2 separate regions of the Homo sapiens genome follow, and region 1 is linked to region 2. Evidence: promoter capture Hi-C in 16 types of primary human blood cells and fetal thymus (Javierre and others, 2016). All regions are on one chromosome and are shown on one strand. The core of a region is centred on a gene start or on the middle of the fragment in contact, and the rest is flanking DNA. Distances in the headings are between cores, read along the strand shown.

Evidence for each region. The method cuts DNA at HindIII sites, captures the fragments that hold promoters and counts their contacts. A CHiCAGO score of 5 or more calls a contact.
Region 1: a fragment that was not itself captured here is called in contact with the fragment with the promoter of ARFGAP2 in region 2 in 1 of 17 cell types (megakaryocytes); the score reaches 5.4 in megakaryocytes.

Annotation. Positions count from the first base shown.
Region 1 is chr11:46,651,863-46,656,862 of GRCh38, forward strand. ATG13 (autophagy related 13) reads left to right here. Exons shown (of 19, transcript NM_001346311.2): 8 at 4,371-4,411. Among named protein-coding and RNA genes, the nearest start is that of ATG13, 37 kb to the left of the region's middle. The HindIII fragment of the contact is 2,737 bases long and covers 2,008-4,744 here.
Region 2 is chr11:47,174,640-47,179,219 of GRCh38, forward strand. ARFGAP2 (ARF GTPase activating protein 2) reads right to left here and starts at 2,240. Exons shown (of 16, transcript NM_032389.6): 1 at 2,143-2,240; 2 at 1,877-1,995; 3 at 1,212-1,284; 4 at 543-674; 5 at 376-459. The coding sequence starts at 2,214. It overlaps PACSIN3 (protein kinase C and casein kinase substrate in neurons 3), which reads right to left. Exons shown (of 11, transcript NM_016223.5): 8 at 4,520-4,580; 9 at 4,255-4,391; 10 at 3,727-3,848; 11 at 2,883-3,407. The coding sequence ends at 3,292. RefSeq lists enhancers at 1,988-2,217, 2,759-3,340, 3,188-3,237, 3,318-3,367 and a silencer at 2,268-2,697. The HindIII fragment of the contact is 14,588 bases long and covers 1-4,580 here.

The DNA of each region.
Region 1 (5,000 bases), core at 2,126-4,625, 520 kb before region 2:
TACCCTACTAAAATCATCGGCTTAGTTACCTAGGACTGCTAGTCCTTTTCATACCAGTGTTTAAAGTGTTCCTTTATTAGGTATCTCTGGAGTAATCATTACTGCTCACAGGGGCCGGACGCACGGCTGTAATCCCAGCACTTTGAGAGGCTGAGGTGGGTGGTCACTTGAGGTTAGGAGTTCGAGACAAGCCTGACAACATAGCGAAACACTGTCTCTACTAAAAATACAAAAAATTAGCTGGGCAGGGTGGCACGCTCCTGTAATCCCAGCTACTCGGGAGGCTGAGGCATGAGAATCACTTGAACCCAGGAGGCGGAGGTTGCAGGGAACCAAGATCACACCACTGCACTCCAGCCTGGGTGACAGGGCTATACTGTATCTCAAAAAAACCCAAACAAACTAGTGCTGCTCACAGGATGTTGATCATTTAGGAGTGCTTTTGGATACAAATAACTGTAGCTTAGATCTAGAGATGTGGGTGATCTCAGAGGTAGACTTGGCTTTTCCACCTGCTTTTTATACTGTTGTTAGAAGGTTAACAGCGTGATACCATTAAAGAATAGTCTTGACCAGGTGTAGTGACTCACGCCTATAATCCCAGCACTTTGGGAGGCCGAGGCAGGAGGATCACCTGAGGTCAGGAGTTCGAGACCAGCCTGGGCAACATAGTGATACCTTGTCTCTACTAAAAATGTAAAAAATTAGCCAGGTGTGGTGGTTCACATCTGTAGTCCCAGCTACTCAGGAGGCTGAGGGAGGATTGCTTGGGTCCAGAAGGTCAAGGCTTCAGTGAGCCATGATCACACCACTGCACTCCAGCCTGGGTGACAGAGCAAGACTCTGTCTCAAAAAAATACACATTGCCAAGAAAAAGTTTAGCAAATTTTAAGCACTGTATCAGTATTTACATGAATAGTGAACTGCCTGAGTCTCAGCTTCTTGTTAAAGGCCTTAAAGGGTATTTACTTAGCAAGATCTCTTTTACCAACACTTTATTAACATTGTTCCTATATTACTTTATGGCAGGAGTCACTAAACTATGGTCAGCCGACCATCTGCTTGTTTTTATAAAAAAAGTTTTTTTAGGACACAGCCATCCCCTTTGTTTACATATTGTCTATGGCTACTTTTGCAATACAACAGAAAGCTGAGTATTTGTTATAGCCTATACGGCCCACAATCTTAAAATAGTTACCATTTGGTCCTTTACAGAAAGGTTTGCTGATCCCTGCTTTTTTAGTATCTTTTGTCTGTCGTATCTGTAGTACTTTTGTGCTTTGTATTTCAGATATTTACATACATTTCATTTCTTTTCTTTTTTTTTTTTTTTTTGAGGTGGAGTCTTGCTCACCTAGGCTGTGCAGTGGCACGATTTTGGCTCACTGCAACCTCCACCTCCTTGGTTCAAGTGATTGTCGTGCCTCAGCCTTCCAAGTAGCTGGGATTAATAGGCATGCACCACCACGCCTGGCTAATTTTTGTATTTTAATTAGAGATGGGGTTTCACCATGCTGGCCAGGCTGGTCTTGAACTCCTGACCTCAATTGATCCGCCCACCTCGGCCTCCCAGAGTGCTGGGATTACAGGCGTGAGCCACCATGTCCAGCTACATTTCTTTTCTTTCATACAAAACTGTAGTCTGTAAGACCTAGGATTCAGATTTATCCTTATTTCATTCCTAACATCTAACCATGAAGCTTCTTTTTTTTTTTTTTGTTTTTTGAGACGGAGTCTCGCTGTGTTGCCCAGGCTGGAGTACAATGGCACAATCTCGGCTCACTGCAAGCTCCGCCTCCCAGGTTCACGCCATTCTCCTGCCTCAGCCTCCCGAGTAGCTGGGACTACAGGCACCCGCCACCACGCCCGGCTAATTTTTTGTATTTTTAGTAGAGACGGGGTTTCACCATGTTAGCCAGGATGGTCTCGATCTCCTGACCTCATGATCCACCCGCCTCAGACTCCCAAAGTGCTGGGATTACAGGCGTGAGCCACCGCGCCTGGCGAAGCTTCTTCATACATTGTTGGAGCTTAGTATTTATTGAATAAACCCATGTGTATATTTAATTTTAACAATATTACTTGAAAAATATGAAAATAGATTTTAGGTATTTTGAATTCAAACTTTTTGCTAATATAGACTGGCCTGTCCAGGGAGAATCATAGGAAGGTTCCACTGTGTTTATGTTTTTATTTTTTTTTTTCAGAATAGTCTTACCTAGTTCATTATTCCACGGTGGAAAAGATTTCCTGCTTTGTTAAGCCATCTACTTAGAGATTTCTTCATGGCCAGGCACAGTTGGCTCACACCTGTAATCCCAGCACTTTGGGAGGCTGAGGTGGGAGGATTGCTTGAGCCCCGGAGTTTCAGACCAGCCTGGGTCACATGGCAAGACCTCATCACTACTATTTTTAAAATTTTATATATATATATATATATATATATATGTAAAAGAGAGCTTCCCACAACTAAAGACCACTTATCAAACTCTAGTACATTCTGGTCAGGTATGGTGGCTCATGCCTGTGATCCCAGCACTTTGGGAGACTGAAGTGGGAGAATAATTTGAGGCCAGGACCAGGGGCAGTGGCTCACACCTGTAATCCCAGCACTTTGGGAGAATGAGGTGGGAGGATCGCTTGAGTTCAGGAGTTCGATACCAGCCTGGGCAACACACCGAGACCCTGTCTATACTAGAAATAAAAAAACTTAGCTGGGTGTGGTGGCACGTGCCTGTAGTCCCAGCTGCTTAGGAGACTGAGGTGAGAGGATCTCTTGAGCCCAGGAGGTTGAGGCTGCAGTGGGCAGTGGTCATACCACTGCACTCCAGCATGGGCAACACACTGAGACCCTGTCTCAAAAAAAACAGTTGAGGCCAGGAGTTTGCAACCAGCCTGGGCAATAGTTAGACCCTGTCTCTACCAAAAATTATTTTTAAAAAACCCGAAAAACAGGCCAGGCATGGTGGCTTGCACCTGTAATCCCAGCACTTTGGGAGGCTACGGCGGGTGTATCACTTGAGCTCAGGAGTTCAAGACCAGCCTGGGCAATGTGGCGAAACCCTGTCTCTACCAAAAATACAAAAATTAGCCAGGCATGGTAGCGCATACCTGTAGTGCCAGCCATTTGGGAGGCTGAGGCACAAGAATCGCTTGAGTCCAGGAGGTGGAGGTTGCAGTGAGCCAAGATGGTGCCATTGCACTCCAGCCTGAGCGACAGAGCGAGACACTGTCTCAAAAAAAACCAAAAAACAGGTCCGGGCGCAGTGGCTCACGCCTGTAATCCCAGCACTTTGGGAGGCTGAGACGGGCGGATCACGAGATCAGGAGATCGAAACCATCCTGGCTAACACGGCGAAAACCCGTCTCTACTAAAAATACAAAAAATTAGCCGGGCGCGGTGGCGGACACCTGTAGTCCAGCTGCTCGGGAGGCTGAGGCAGGAGAATGGCATGAACCTGGGAGGCGGAGCTTGCAGTGAGCCGAGATTGCACCACTGCACTCCAGCCAGGGCGACAGAGTGAGACTCAGTCTCAAAAAGCAAAACAAACAAACAAAAAAACAGCCGGGCGTGGTGGCATGCGTCTGTAATCCCAGCTACTTGGGAGGCTGAGGTAGGAGAATCGCTTGAACCCAGGAGGCTGGAGGTTGCAGTGAGCCGAGATCATGCCACTGCACTGCAGCCTGGGTGACAGAGCAAGACTCCGTCTCAAACAAAACAAAACAAAACAAAACCAGTGCCTTCTAGTAGCAATCCTAGACCTGTTGGCCACTTTTATTTATATATTCTTTATTTCTCAGTAGGTATAATTTTAAAATACATTTTAGTAGCAGAGAGAAGAAACTTAAATAGCAGTTTCCACTTAATTATTATTTTCCTCATTTCTTTTTTTGAGACAGCGTCTCATCCTTTTGCCCAGGCTGGAATGCAATGGTGCAATCTTGGCTCACTGCAGCGTCAACTTCCTGGGCTTAAGTGATCCTCCCACCTCAGCCTCCCAGTTATCTGGTACTCCAGGCATGCACCATCACACCCGGCAAAATTATTTTTTGTCAATGCAGGGTCTTGCTGTGTTGCCCAGACTGGTCTTGAACTCCTGGCCTCAAGTGATCCTCCCGAAGTGCTGGGATCACAGGCATGAGCCACTGTGCCTGGCCTTATTTTCCTTATTTTTTAACCAACCCACTCTGTACGTCTCCATGCCTGTAGCTTAATTGAAGTAGTAGGAATTACTAATGCTCCATCAGCAGAGGTATTTGAGCAGATGAGTAAGGAAGGCTTTGTTTTATTTTGTTTCTACGTGTTTTGGCTATAGAGGCCCTTAGGAGTAAAGAATCAGGTAACATTTCTTATTTTTTCTTCCATACAGGATATATTTTGGAGAAGTTCAGCTGAGTGGCTTAGGAGAAGGTATGTATCAACGGTTGAAAAACATCGTAGTGTTCAGAGCTCTCCTAACTTCAGAGATGATCTTCGTTTCTACTTGTTATAATATGTAGATTGTCATCTTAATATGCATAATACAAGTAAAGAAAAGATGAGAATGCAGGTAGGTGGTCCAGGTTACCCCTGATCTGCCAGGGTAACCAAATAATTTTTCCCAAAGTTCCAGGAACTCAGTCTTCTTTCTTACTCTTTATAAAACTGTATATTTTCCTAATTTTCTACAGTGAGGATGTTAAATGTTTCTGATGAACAACAAGAATTTTGAAAAATTGGAAATGAAACCAAGAAAATCAGGAAAGCTTTGTTGAAAGTGTCACTTGCAAGGCCTTGGCTCTTTACTTAGCCGTGGAGTGGCAGCTTGGGTGGAAGGCAATTACTTCTTAAACTGAAGTGTTTGTGTGACATTCTAGTGCTCCTTCATTGTCTTTTTTAGCATGTGATGTATCCTTTGCAGGGCTGGTTAGTAGAACTTTCTCAGGCCTTAAAACTAACAGTTATTTTATCTCTTTGAAGGTAGCTTTATCTATAAATAGAGTGCTGTTTCCCTTGCCAA
Region 2 (4,580 bases), core at 990-3,489:
CCGCCTCGGCCTCCCAAAGTGCTGGGATTACAGGCGTGAGCCACTGCGCCCGGCCCACAGTGCCTTTCTTATAGGGGAAGAATCCAGGAAAATTTGTTTGGGGCACCGGACACCTCTTGAAACTTCAAGAAGCTGCCTCTCTTCCCCGCCAGCCCAATTTATAGGAGTCGATTTCTAAGGAGGGCTACACTGCACCTCCATTTATGGAGGAGGAAACACCTAGGCCTACCCAGCAGGAACAGTGGACTTCATACGTGGTGTCCAAGACATCACATCAAAGCAAATGGAATCTACAACCATGATCACAGAAGGCCTGGGCCTTGGTAAATTGCCTGTCAAGAACAACTGGGAAAACGGTTCCTTGTGGGCACTCACTTGAGTGTGTTCTGTGAAGAAATCAGAGTCCTTCTTCTCTGGGGAGTGATTAGGAACGGCACTACTCATGTTGTCTATCCAAAGCTAGAAAGGAGAAGACACCCCTAAAACACAGGGCTCTGAATACTCCTAACCCTCCTGCCCCAGCCCCAAGAACAGGCACTTACATCAGTGCCATGCCTAGCCAGGGCCGCACTCCCCAGCTGCCGGATCTTCTCCCGGTACATCTGGGCAGCTCGGCTATTATATTTGGTGTTGGCATCATTGGCTGTGCATCCATGTTGGCGAAAAAAAGCCGTCTGGAGAGCAAAGAAGAGAGCAGCGCGTGCTACGGGTGATTCTCAAGAAGGAAACGTGTTGGCTGTAGGAGACATCTCCTTATGACAGCGAAGTTATTATCTATACAGGATGATACACGCTACTGACACCGGTTTTTCAGAGATAAAGTTTCTCGAAATTCCTGCAAAAAACACCTTGCAGCGGGCCATCCTCTGATATGACTGAAGTCCAGGCCCCACTGAACGCTGCCTGAGCACAACATCCCATACCCAGCCTCCCCATCCTTCATCCAGGGCAGGCCCACAAGACCCAATGACTGTGAAGGCTCCCAACTCCTGTGGCTTTTCCCCAAGAACACCTGCCCAGTTTAATTGGAATCTGAAACCCATTTAAGAGAAGCTGTGACCAGTTTCGAAGTTTTCAGAAAATAGCTTATGGTGGTGTTATAGAACAGAGAACCCTCTGAACAGGGAAAACGACAGGGCCTCTTAGGGAGTCGTGCAAAGTTAGTAACCAGGCAGAAGAATGGAAGGTGAGGGAAGTAGAAGGAGCTTTACCGCATTGGCATTCCCGCCGACCTGCATACACCTCAGCTGGAACCAGTTCCAGTTGGAATCCAACTCTGTGGACCTGTGTACAAGGGCTGCGTCTCACCCACTAGCAGATACCAGCAGGATTTCCCTGGCAACCCGGATACCTGTCACTTGGCCTCAGGCTGCTGTAGGCACCCAGGAAACATTAATCAGCCATCACCCCATTTCCTCCACACTACCCTGTCCATGAAAACTCTCCTCTTCGTTCATTTACTCCAAAGAGTACTAATTATGTCCCCAGATCCGAAAGGAGGTCACATTCTCAGGCACGCACGCCTGGATTTGGCTTTCCCCTAATGGATGGTCACAGTCTCACTAGAGACATACTGGTCTAACAACATATCAGCAACAACAAGGTCAATGCCTCCCTTTCCCCTCAACTAACGCTCAGAGTCTCAAGCCTGACCGTCAAAAAAGAGGAAGTTTTGGCCCAGAGGCGGAGACGGACCGCCCATGTGCCAAAGGGCCCACACAGGTGGTTCCCTCTGGCAGGAGGCTACCGGACCCTCTCGGCCCAGAGGCTTCCCACCGAATTCAGAGCGGCCCAAGTCGAGGCAGCCACTCTCCCTTGTTGCCCAGACACCCCTGGCCGGCCGGGTGGAAACACGGCAACCGCGCGGAGAGCCTACCTGATGAAGCTCAGATGGACGCCCAGGGAGCGGTGCACCCCGGAACAGTCAATGCACAAGAAAACACCGTACGTGATGCTGGCCCAACTCGGATTCTTGGCGCCGCAGTCGAAACAGGCCTGGGTGGAGGCGGCGATGAGCGAATCGTCAGGGGCCCCGAGTAAAGGCCAGGCACCGACACCCCAGAAACATAACCCACCTCCGCCCTTCTCCCTCCCTCAGGCCCCAGCGGGACGAGAGACTCCGCGCGCCCCCTGCTCACGCACCTTGTTGGTTGGAACTGCGCGAAGCCTCTTAAAAAGAGTCTGGATTTCGGTCTTGTTCGGCTCCGCCGCCATTTTCTCTCCTTCCCAGACACAACCGCGGCTGACGGGTCCCGCCGCGGGCCAATCCACGGCGGGGAGGGCGGGCTCACCAGGCCGGCCTCAGCGGTGCCTGGGCCAGCCGAGGGGTGGGGTGATTGGAGTCCGATCTGGACCAATGGGCAGCCGGCGGGACGGGGGCGGCGACGACAACCGCGGCCGCAAGAATCAACGCCGCGCCGGGCCAATCCGCAGCCGGGGCGGGGCGACGGCGCGCGGACCGGCCCAAACCTCCTCGCGCGCGTAGTACCCTTCCCCCCGCCCCTCCCACGCCGCAACCCCCAGGTGGAGTCGCCCCCACGCCGCGCAGGCTGCGGGAGGCTGGGGGCGGGGACCCCCACTCCAGCTAATTACAGATCGATGAATAAGGATTAGGCTGCCCAAACACTCCTCGTCCCTCCGGCCCGAACGGGCAGACGCATTGGCCCGCGTCTCGCCCAGCCTTCAGCCGTTCTCGGTTAACAGCAAGCCTGACAGCGAGTCCCCTCCACTCCAGATTAGTATCTCGAAGTTCCAGAGCAGGTACCAAGCAGGCAAACCCTTTTCCAACCCCGGCCCCATAACAGACGCTAGGCCTCTCTCTAGATGCCCTCTGGTGGCCTGGCAAGGGTGTCCTATCAAAAAAATGCACATGAGCCCGACAGTGGTGTTTTTGTTTTTGTGTGTGGGTGTGTGTCAAGTTTTAATACACGCTAGAACAAGCCACAAGAGGGTGCTGCTAGGCCAGAACTACACTCACCCCAAGCCCACCCCAGGAACCCCAAAGCAGAGGTCAGGAACTGAGTCCACAGCTCCTGGGGAGGCCCAGGCACCCCTGAACGCTTCTGTCACCTCTGACCTCCCATCTTGCCCTCAGCCTAGACTCGTCCCTTCCCTACCAGTCCCTTCCCTAGACAAAGGCCCCTCCCCTCCCTGGGTCCCAGGACTTCCTCCCTCAAGGGACAGAGGAGCAGCCAGAGAGCGACGGTTCAGGGCCCTGAGGGTCCGGCTCTCCAGGAGAAGCTGGGCTCTGAACCAGGGTGGGTAAACGTTGCAGAAGGGCTGTCAGGACACTCAGGCGCCCACACACTCCACGTAGTTGGCAGGGTACAGGCCAATGCGGCCACTCTGCAACTGGCCTTGGCACCAGCCCTGCTCGTCCTCCTCACTCATCTTCAGCAGCTCCTCCCCTGGGGGAAAGGGGATTGGTCACTGCCAGTGGCCCTGGCCCAGGCCCTGTTCCTGCAACTGGGTCAAGGACTGAGGGGGATGGTGTGGTCCCAGAGCCCAGCTAGCAAAGACATGGCTCAGGCAGAGGCAGGTCAAGGTCAGCAAGCTGCCCCACCCCAGACCCTGAATGCAGCCACCAGGCACCAGCTATCTGGACCTGGAACAGCTGAAGGGACAGAGGACTGGCCCTTAAGAAGTGGGTATTTGGCTTCCCTTTCTGACACCCCTGCTCAGGCAGATAAGGCAGAGGCTGAAGCTAGGAAAGGGGTCCCAGGGTACCTGCTCGGAAGCTCAGCTCATCAGCTTCCTGGCCAGCGTAGTCATAGAGTGCCCTCACCCGAACCCCGGTGGCAGCCTTCCGGGGACTCTCTTCATCTGACCACTCCTCATCCTGCCCCGTGCTGGAGAGGGGAGGCAAAGGGAGCAGCTCAGAGTGCAAGGAACACGGGGCTGGAGATCTCACCCAGGATCAGGGCAAAGGCCTCCCTACCCCCAGAGGCACCTGGGAGAGTCAGGTGAGGTACTAAAGATTCTAGCTCTACCTCGCCATGCCCGACTGTGAGCAAAGAGGCAATTCCTGCCACACGCAGCTGATTTAAGGCATAAACGAGAGGGAATGTGGGAAATGCCCAGCAAATCTAAACCACTATGAGAACCAGTATCATTACAACTACTAAGTAGGCCCTCAGGTCCCTGGCACCAATTTTCAACCCATTTCAGGTGTGAAAGAAATGAAACCAAGGAGAAAGGAAAGGAGGGCGGGAGGCAGAGCTGTTTCTTTGCCACAGCCGCGCTCCTGGCTCTCACCCTGGGGACCCCGGGGACTGGGGTGGGGGTGCGGTGCCATCTCTTGTAGGCACAATGCTGGTCAGGGTAACCTCATCAGGGCTCCGGCCACCCTTCTCTTTCCGGCTGATTGTCCTCTGTGTGTCCAAGGACCACTCCTGTGGGGACAGTGCTTATAGTCAGGTGGGGCCATCTGAACCACCTTCACTTACTTCATCCCTAGCCCTGGCCGAGCTGAGTGGGAGCCCATCCCACCTCCCATCCCCACCCCGCCTGGAACACATGCCTCGAACTGTGGCCAGTTCATGGCCATGCCTGGCCCGTGGGTGCTGCGCCACCAGCGCAGA